3 separate regions of the Homo sapiens genome follow, and all the other regions are linked to region 3. The links are contacts of gene promoters, found by promoter capture Hi-C in blood cells and fetal thymus (Javierre and others, 2016). All regions are on one chromosome and are shown on one strand. Each heading gives the region's core, a stretch centred on a gene start or on the middle of the fragment in contact. The rest is flanking DNA. Distances are from core to core; before and after follow the strand shown. Region 1 overlaps WFDC3 (WAP four-disulfide core domain 3). Region 2 holds the start of UBE2C (ubiquitin conjugating enzyme E2 C). Region 3 holds the start of SYS1 (SYS1 golgi trafficking protein).

The links. The method cuts DNA at HindIII sites, captures the fragments that hold promoters and counts their contacts. A CHiCAGO score of 5 or more calls a contact.
Region 1: a fragment that was not itself captured here is called in contact with the fragment with the promoter of SYS1 in region 3 in 6 of 17 cell types (M0 macrophages, M1 macrophages, M2 macrophages and 3 more); the score reaches 6.8 in M0 macrophages.
Region 2: a contact is called between the fragment with the promoter of UBE2C here and the fragment with the promoter of SYS1 in region 3, in 1 of 17 cell types (naive CD8 T cells). The highest score is 5.1, in naive CD8 T cells.

What each region holds. Positions count from the first base shown.
Region 1 is chr20:45,773,575-45,776,902 of GRCh38, forward strand. WFDC3 (WAP four-disulfide core domain 3) reads right to left here. Exons shown (of 7, transcript NM_080614.2): 6 at 1,843-2,028; 7 at 639-870. The coding sequence ends at 854. Among named protein-coding and RNA genes, the nearest start is that of WFDC3, 17 kb to the right of the region's middle. RefSeq lists an enhancer at 2,003-2,172. The HindIII fragment of the contact is 2,181 bases long and covers 952-3,132 here.
Region 2 is chr20:45,810,926-45,814,115 of GRCh38, forward strand. It overlaps UBE2C (ubiquitin conjugating enzyme E2 C), which reads left to right and starts at 1,719. Exons shown (of 6, transcript NM_007019.4): 1 at 1,719-1,871; 2 at 2,512-2,539. The coding sequence starts at 1,771. DNTTIP1 (deoxynucleotidyltransferase terminal interacting protein 1) reads left to right here. Exons shown (of 13, transcript NM_052951.3): 12 at 1-15; 13 at 132-493. The coding sequence ends at 270. RefSeq lists a silencer at 1,522-1,711. The HindIII fragment of the contact is 3,801 bases long and covers 1-2,801 here.
Region 3 is chr20:45,361,626-45,364,570 of GRCh38, forward strand. SYS1 (SYS1 golgi trafficking protein) reads left to right here and starts at 1,531. Exons shown (of 4, transcript NM_033542.4): 1 at 1,531-1,690; 2 at 1,904-2,068. The coding sequence starts at 1,907. SYS1-DBNDD2 (SYS1-DBNDD2 readthrough (NMD candidate)) reads left to right here and starts at 1,544. Exons shown (of 6, transcript NR_003189.2): 1 at 1,544-1,690; 2 at 1,904-2,068. LOC124904914 (a long non-coding RNA gene) reads right to left here and starts at 1,743. Exons shown (of 2, transcript XR_007067609.1): 1 at 1,443-1,743; 2 at 731-1,201. RefSeq lists an enhancer at 1,261-1,700. The HindIII fragment of the contact is 10,354 bases long and covers 1-2,945 here.

The DNA.
Region 1 (3,328 bases), core at 792-3,291, 410 kb after region 3:
GCCTGGCCATCATGGTGAAACCCCGTCTCTACTAAAAATACAAAAATTAGTCAGGCATGGTAGCGCGCCTGTAGTCCCAGCTACTCGGGAGACTGAGGCAGGAGAATCACTTGAACCTGAGAGGCAGAGGTTGCAGTGAGCCAAGATTGCGCCACTGCACTCCAGCCTGGGCAACAGAGTGAGACTACATCTCAAAAAAAAAAAAAAACTAGCCACTCACCCTTGTTCCACCCTCAACCCACATTCTCCAATAAAAGAAAGAAGGTCAGCAGGTCTAAAAGAGACTGACCTCCACCCCCACCAGGGCTTGAGAAAGACATCTATGGCAAGTCACTCTCAGTTTAGTTTCCACCCTCAACCCACATTCTCCAATAAAAGAAAGAAGGTCAGCAGGTCTAAAAGAGACTGACCTCCACCCCCACCAGGGCTTGAGAAAGACATCTATGGCAAGTCACTCTCAGTTTAGTTTCCACCCATCTCTTCCCTAGCCACACCCAACCAAAACCCATTTTCAGTGTCCTCACAAAGAATGGATTACCCATCTGTCCTAAATATGTAAATCGTACAATCCCACAGGCACACACATACCCTCTAGCTCTCCCATATCATCTGAGCCCTCAAATAGCACAAACAAGAGGTCAGCACCAGCCTTTATCGGGAAAGAGAAGCACCACACACCCACTACCCAATCCAGGGCTATTTCCCATGCTCTGGTCAGCGGCAGGAGGAGAAGCAGAGCAGAGAGGGCCATGAGTGCCCCTGGAAATGTCACAAGCCCCAGGATGTCACCCTCTCTTGACTGCCAGGAAAAGCTTCCAGAATTACCAAAGAAGCTCCAGACAAATCAGCACAGCTAGGGCACCGGGATCTCTGCAAGTAGAAGAAACATCAAGTCACAGCTGTGCCCTCCTGGCTTCAGCTACCTGAAATGTTTTCCCTCCACCCTAGGAAAGCTTGGCCTATATTGCTCTCAAAAGTCTTAAATAGCTCCTTGCTTCCCAGACAATCCAATCCAAACTGGCACTGAAGGCTCTTATTATTCAGATGTCAACCTTGTATCTCCTGTTATAAAAAACTGGAATTATGGTCGGGCACAGTGGCTCATGCCTGTAATCCCAGCACTTTGGGAGGCCAAGGTGGGTGGATAACCTGAGATCAGGAGCTCGAGACCAGACCTGGCCAACATGGTGAAACACTGTCTCTACTAAAAATACAAAAATCAGCTAGGTATGATGGCAGGCGCCTGTAAATCCCAGCCTTGGGAGGCTGAGGCAGGAGAATTGCTTGAATCCAGGAGGCAGAGGTTGCAGTGAGTCGAGATTGTGCCATTGCACTCCAGCCTGGGTGACAAGAGTGAAACTCCATCTCAAAAAAAAAAAAAAAAAAACTGGAGATACGTCTGTTCCTTTACCCACCCTGCCCCCACTCCTCACCTCCCAAACATATCCCACACATTCCCACCCTGTGTTCCTTTGCCAGCAATCACCAGATTGCCTATCTGGCATGTCCCTGTGCTATCCTCCCTTTGTCGCATCTGCCTAGCCTTAAGCACCTCAATCAAATCCCACCTCTCCCACAGAGACCTTCCCAGGGAGCCACACCTGGGAACAGGTGTAAGCCTGTACTGTTTATATGAGGGTTCTCATCTGGGACACAGGTTTGCCACACCTGAGAACAGGTGTAAGCCTGTACTGTTTGTATGAGGGTTTTCATCTGGGACATAGGTTCTTTCTCTCCAACTAGACTTTTCCTGACCTTCTGAAGTCCCCTTCCCAGCACCTAAGCCAGTGCTTTGCACATAGCAGTTGTCTGTTATTGTTGATGACAATGGACTGTACTCACCTAATTCGGAATCAGACCTCACAGTCCAGTTGGGGTTCATGGTCAGTTTTGGGGGCAGGACTGGTGGGACACAGAAGCGGCCACAGCCTGACTTGCAACATTTTTCTCCAGCTTGACAATTCTCATCCATCACACAGCCAACAATGCACAGGCCCACCAGAACTTTTGGACAATCACCGCCCCGCCCTGTGGGAACAACAGGCACAGGAAAAGGGACAGGGCATCAGCTCTGCCATCTCCATGTTCCCATCGTGAACTTACACACAGAGGCTCTAGGTCAATCAACCCCTGACCCTCACTAGACCCAACTAAACTGGCTGGGAAACCATGGCGCTGGAGGATCTCAGAATCTTTAGGAACCCAAGAGACCTCTGAGCCCAGAGTTTTCAAATGGTGCCCCAAAGGGAGTTCCCAAGAGGTAACTCAGGGATTGACACCTCTGCAGGTTTGGGGTGGGGGTGGGTGAAGTGTGGCAGGGGCAAGCCTCCCAGACCACTCCCCCTCCCCCTATGCTCTGGATTCATAGTGTCACTTCTTCACGGTGGCCTCCTCTGCCACCCTAGACAAGGTTTGATGTCCCTGCTTTGTGCTCCTGTAGCACCCTGTATGCTTCCTCTCATCAAACTTTATCATAATCCCTTATTTAAAAGGAATATGTCTATCTTGCCTGATGGGCTATAAGCTACATACGGACAAGAGTCTGTCCTCAGCCTTGAGCACTGCCTGGGAATCTAAAGGGACTAAGATAGCACAAGGGTCAATGATTCTTTAATGGAGATCCACAGTGCCTGGCACTCAAAAATATTTGTTTTTTTAAAATGTTGAAGAAAAAAAGGCATTGGAACAGGAATGCTTTTATCTCTGTGTGTGTGTGTGTGTGTGTGTGTGTGTGTGTGTGTGTGTGTTTCCAGCTGGGCGTGGTGGCTCACGCCTGTAATTCCAGCACTTTGGGAGGCCGAGACAGGCAGATCACGAGGTCAGGAGTTCAAGACCAGCCTGGTCAACATGATGAAAACCCATCTCTACTAAAAATACAAAAATTAGCTGGGCATGGTGGCGTGTGCCTGTAATCCCAGCTACTCAGGAGGCTGAGGCAGAAGAAACCCCAGAGGCAGAGGTTTCAGTGAGCCAAGATCACGCCACTACACTCTAGCCTGGGGTACAGACCAAGACTCTGTCTCAAAAAAAAAAAAAAAGAAAAAAAAGAAAAAAAAAAAAAATATATATATATATATATATATATATGTGTGTGTGTGTTTCCAACTAAGATTTCATTTGGGGCAGGGGAGAAGCTTTTTGTTAAAAATTAGATCTGAAAATCAGGATCTTGGGCAACTCCTTCATTTTACAGATAAAGAAATTTGGGCTCAAAAAGACGGGTTTGCTTACCTAAGGTCACAAAGCAAAACCTCAGCAGAATCAAGACCAAAAGCCACACTGTCTGTCTTCCAGCCCAAGTAGTTCCTACTGCCCCACAGTGCCTTCC
Region 2 (3,190 bases), core at 469-2,968, 450 kb after region 3:
CAGTGATGATTACAGGTAAAACCAGTGGGTCTCCTGCCCCTTCTCCTCTCCCTGCCTCCAAATAGCCCCTAGAATGAGGCAGGGCCTACATCCTCACTTCCCCCAACTTCTCTCTTCAATGTCTGTTCCAGAGGATGCCTGGATCTGAAGCTAGAGGAATTGAAATCCTTTGTCCTACCCTCCTGGATGGTGGAGAAGATGAGAAAGTATATGGAGACACTACGGACAGAGAATGAGCATCGTGCTGTTGAAGCACCTCCACAGACCTGAGGCCGGGTCCCCTGGCCACACTTGGCAGCCCTCCTCCAAAGCCCTCTTCCTCACGTGGCTGAGGCCACCGCTGGGACTGCTCCTAGATGGATCTCAGCGGCATTAAGCTGTGCCTGAGCGAGTTTGTAGTGACTCACTGCACAGCACCCCCAGACTAGCATGTGGTTCTATATTTGTAAAGTTATTGGGATAAGAAACAATTAAACAGTTTGTAGTAAACACAGATGGTGAACCTGCTGTGCCCTCTACCTTGTGGGAATTGACAGAACATCAAGGGCTCTAGAAGTGGGTGTAGGAAAAAAGGACGAGATAACCCTCACCCATAACAGTATAGAGCCAGGCTTGATAAGACCAACCTGGGAGCACCATGTACCCTGCCCGTCTTCCCTTTGCCCATTTGTAGTTTCCTTACCCAGCTAATGTAAGGACATGGCAGAATGCGATGGAGTTTGATGACAGATCATATGAAAAATAGAGTTGGCTTTTATTGCTCCCATTTTACAGGTTAAGATACTAAAGGACCCGCCCCAAGGTTACACACTACCCACTGGGGAGGTAGGATATACAGGATATGAACCTGTGTTGTTGGGGTTTTTGTTTGTTTGAAGACAGTCTTGCTCTGTTGCCCAGGCTAGAGTGCAGCCTCTGGCTCAAGCGATTCTCCCGCCTCAGCCTCGCCAGTAGCTGGGACTACAGGCTCGTGCCACCTCACCAGCCTTTTTTTTTTTTCTTTTCTTTTTTTTTTTTTTTCTTTTAAGTAGAGACAGGTCTCCCTATCCTGTTGCTCAGGCTGGTCTCGAACTCCTGGGTTCAAGTGATCCTCCTGCCTGGGCCTTCCAAAGTGTTCGGGATTACGGACGTGAGCCACTGCGACCAGCCTGAACCAATGTTGCCTTTTTTTATTTCTGTCATCTCTGCGGAGATGTATGGACCTATGTTTTCTAATAGGGAGCCTGCTGCTCTGGCCATCAGCCTTTAGTTTTTCCCCTCGCTGGGATTTTCAGATACTTAGGACGCAGCAAAGGTGCCCAGGCGATTATAATGGTGGGAGGGTACCAGTGCTGCAGGATTGGAGGCACTCCCTGCCCGAGGGAAATTGGATCAAGGCTGGGCGTGCCGAGTGTTCCCACGCGGAGTAAGACGTGTAGCCAGAAGGAGGGGTTCATCCCACGTGGACGTTTTCTTGGCCCTTTAATGGTTAGCGTTTTCCAACGGCCACCAATTCGCTACGGATTCGTTAGTTAATGGCAGCATCATCTACCAATCGGTTGTCAGAAGCGGGATTCTGCCGCCCAATAGCGGTGCGCCAGTGGGTAGGTCTAGCAGTGGCGCAGCAATAGAGCGCTCCGGAGCGTCTCATTGGCTGGATCAAACCCAAGCGAGCCATTGATTGGTCGACGCCCCCAGAGGGTTACAATTCAAACGCGGGCGGGCGGGCCCGCAGTCCTGCAGTTGCAGTCGTGTTCTCCGAGTTCCTGTCTCTCTGCCAACGCCGCCCGGATGGCTTCCCAAAACCGCGACCCAGCCGCCACTAGCGTCGCCGCCGCCCGTAAAGGAGCTGAGCCGAGCGGGGGCGCCGCCCGGGGTCCGGTGGGCAAAAGGTGAGTGATGCGGCCTACCACTCGCCGGGCCTGCCATGCCCTAGGCATTGGTACCCAGAGCAAAGATTTCTAGGACCACCCCCCGCCGCCACCTCCTGGAGCGGGAGATCTGCGGGTGCAGGAGAACACACCAGGAGCTCGGGGCCTGGCATTCCCCTGGGCATGGGTGTCGAGGGCGGAGACTTCCGGGACTCCCACCTCCTTGCGCGGGTGAGATTCGAGAGATGGGGGACAGGCCAGGAGCTCAGACCGCTCTTTGAGACTCTCCCGAAGGAGAATGGGAGGGTAGGGGCGCTGCCAGACTCCTTCCCTGGTGGGCCTAGATGAAGACGCTCAAGGACCCTCGTGACTTGGCCGAGACAGGGGAAGGGAGAAGTTGAGTCGGGCAAGGAAGAGATGCTAAAGCCTGGGGAATTAAGAACATGCCAGAATCATCCCGAGGGAGTCTGGAATTAGGGAGGGTGAGGACTCGCTAGGATCGTCCTGTGGATCTGGTGAGTATACCCTGAGCTGAGCCTGACCTTGGTGATGTGGGGAGCCTCCATGACGGCTCCCCCTGAGATTCAGGTGGGAGAAGATGCACCGTCTGGAGGCCTGGCCCATCCAGACTCCCAGGTAACCCCGAATACTCTTTTTTCAGGCTACAGCAGGAGCTGATGACCCTCATGGTGAGTGATTAAGTGCCCAGAACCCCAGCCTTCCATCCAATTTTCAGTAGCCTCCTTTTTTCCGTCAGCTTTTTTGCTAGACATAGGGGTAATGTAATTTGCTCCCTCCTGGGAAAGAAGTTCATACACCCCACCTACACCATTTCTTCCAGCAGTCCCTCCTCCCAATTCCATCCCCCCACACGAAGTTATCTCGAACACTTCCCTGAAGTCATACAAGACCCTCCCTATCCAGTGTGTCCCTACTTCCTAGCCCCAACCAAGCTTTACCCACACCCAACTCCCCGCCCTTCTTGGTATTTCTAGCCTATGAATTTGGTTGCTTTATTTTGGATCAGAGTGATGAGATTAAGGGGAGGCTGGGCGCGGTAGCTCACACCTTATAATCCCAACACTTTGGGGGGCTAAGGTGGGCGGATCACTTGAGGTCAGGAGTTCGAGACCAGCCTGGCCAACATTGCAAAACCCTGTCTCTACTAAAAATACAAAAATTATCCAGGCATGGTGGTGCATGCCTGTAATTTCAGCTACTCGGGAGGCTGAGGCACAAGAATCATTTGAACCGTGGAGACAGAGGTTGCGGTGAGCCGAGCGCACCACTGCACTCTAGCCTGGGCGACAGAGTGTGTGTGTGTGTCTGTCTCTGTCTAT
Region 3 (2,945 bases), core at 281-2,780:
CGGCTAATTTTCTGTATTTTTAATAGAGATGGGGTTTCACCATGTTAGCCAGGATGGTCTTGAACTCCTGACCTTGTGATCTGCCCGCCTCAGCCTCCCAAAGTGCTGGGATTACAGGCATGAGCCACTGTGCCCAGCCTAAGTTTTTTTTTTAATGAGAAAATAATTACTGGAAGGTAGATTAAATGGTGGAAAACGTTAATCATGTCCAACTCCTCATTTCATAAACAGGGAAGCTGAGGTTTAAAGAAGGAAGTGGCTTGCTGGTCACACTGGGTGGCATAGCTGGCCCTAAAACCCAAATTCTTTTCCTGGAACAACTTACTTCCCGTCTTTCCACTTCAGAGAGGGGGAACCTAGGATCAATGAAGTTGATGGGTTTTCGTCTGCTGGAGTAGGAATAAGTGAGTTATCGATTTGCTCTTGCTTTTTCTGTTCTTAACTCATTCAGCAAATATTTACTGACTGTCCACTATTCGGATTTGGAAGATAGATAAAACAGTCATGGCAGCAGAGAGGGTCAGGATTTACTCCTATGTGCGACTTCAGAACCTGTGCCTTTTTCCACTGGACACCCACATTTTAAAACACCCACTACTCTGCCTTCTAATATAGTTCATCTGTGTCTCAGGGCAGGGGCTGTCTTATATATACATGTTCTAGCCTTCCTGCCACCGAGTAGGTGCGAAATCAATGTTGTAGTGTTGAGGAAACACTTGAATTTTATTTATTTATTTATTTATTTATTTATTTATTTAGAGACGGAGTTTTGCTCTTGTTGCCCAGGCTGGAGTGCAATGGCGTGATCTCGGCTCACTGCAACCTCTGCCTCCCGGGTTCAAGCAATTCTCCTGGCTCAGCCTCCCGAGTAGCTAGGACTACAGGCGTGCGCCACCACGCCCCGCTAATTTTGTATTTTTAGCAGAGACGGGGTTTCTCCATGTTGGTCAGGCTGGTCTCGAAACACCGACCTCAGGTAATCCGCCCACCTCAGCCTCCCAAAGTGCTGGGATTACAGGCGTGAGCCACCGCGCCCGACCAACACTTGAATTTTAATACTTACTTTGCTACTAACTGTGTCGTTGAAACAGTATGTTGCTTTCCTTCTCTGGCCCTTAGCTTAACTATCTGTACAGCGGGAACATTGGCAAACTCCTACGTGGAGGAGCTTGCAGGTCCACTTCAAGTTATCAGACTCTAACTAGGAGAAAACATTGAGAATTTAGGCTGAAAATAACGACACAGTTTATCACCTCGTTAATTCCCAAACATCATTACCGCGTCCTAAGCCACCCCACTTGCCTCTCCCCTAGCCGCCTTCCTTTAAAAAAAGAATTCCCCTCTAGAGGGCGCGCAAGCTCTGCGGCCTTCGTTCCTCTCTTCCGTTTGCCTTCACTCTTCCTTCTGCGCATGTGCTCAGTTCGCTATCCGGCTGCTTGTACCTGGTTCAGGAGGTTCAGGCAGAGGTTGCACCCACTACGCCTGCGCAACCTCAGCCCCGCCCCTCCGCTGCTTTCCCCGGAAACGTTTCTTTCCTACGCAGCCGCTCCTGCCGCCGTGGTCGCTGGAGCTTTGCCTCTCTAGGCCGGCAGCGCCTCTCCTCCATGGTCCTGTCTGTCAGCGCTGTTTTGGGAGCCCGCCGGTGAGGCCGGGCCACGCTCAGACACTTCGATCGTCGAGTCTGTCACTGGTGAGTAGACCCCAGAGGAGCTCGTGTACGGGCGGGGGCCGCGCAGGCGGAATGGGCTGGATTTCCCCTCACTCTGAGAATGGGTCTGTCTGCCCCGCCTTCCCCCTGACTCTTGGAATGGGCTCACCCCTTGGTTCCAGTCCCTCCTCCCGGGCGGGGCGACGTTGCCATGGAGACAGGCCGCTGGCTGAGGCCCGGCTCGTGTCCCTGCAGGGCATGGCGGGTCAGTTCCGCAGCTACGTGTGGGACCCGCTGCTGATCCTGTCGCAGATCGTCCTCATGCAGACCGTGTATTACGGCTCGCTGGGCCTGTGGCTGGCGCTGGTGGACGGGCTAGTGCGAAGCAGCCCCTCGCTGGACCAGATGTTCGACGCCGAGGTAGGGTCCCCGGACTGGGGCGGGTGGGGTCTCGGCCTCCCCGAGTAGGCTTTGTGGTCCATCACTACTGTGCTGTAGACGTGGCTGGGTCACCTTCTTTCTTTGTAGCCCTGGGAAAGGGATTTCACCTTTCTGAGCCTCAGCTGCCTCATCCATAAAATGGAATGACAGCAGAGGCTGATTAGTACAAAGAAAAGGGCCTGGATGTTAATACAATAAACACGTCTGTGTTCCAGGCAACTCTGATACATTTCCTTTCTGATACTCTGGGAAAGTGACTTGATTTCTCTGAGCTAGGTTCTCAGGTGCCACATCGGAGAGAGGGGTGGATAAAAGAGCATTCGTGCGGGTACAGTGGAAACTGCCTGGACTTTGGGGTCAGACAGGCGTCCGTTTAAGATCCACTTACTAGCTGTGTGACCTGGGGCAAATGTCACCTCTGTGAACTTGTTTTCCTGTCTTCAAAACCATGAGACTAGTTGCAGAGAGGTCGTGGACTGCAATATAAAGAGCATGTGCTTTGGGTTCAGAAAAGCAAGGGTTCAGTCTAGGCCTAAACATATAAAACTAGCTGTGGGACCTTGGGCAAGTTGCTTCCCCTTTCTGAGCCTTTTCTGAAAAGTGGGCCGGATGCTCCTACCATGTTGCCCTCAACAAAATGTTACAAGGCCCAGAGGGGTTTAGGAATAAGAAGGTACTTTGTAAAGTGTAAAGGAGGCCTATAAGTTGTTACATCTAAGAGGCAGCTGTGGCGTGGTGATGAGCACAGTTCTTTTTTTTTTTTTTTTTTTTTTTTGAGACGGAGTCTCCCTCTGTCGCCCAGGCTGGAGTGCAGTGGCAGGATCTCGGCTCACTGCAAGCTCCGCCTCCCGGGTTC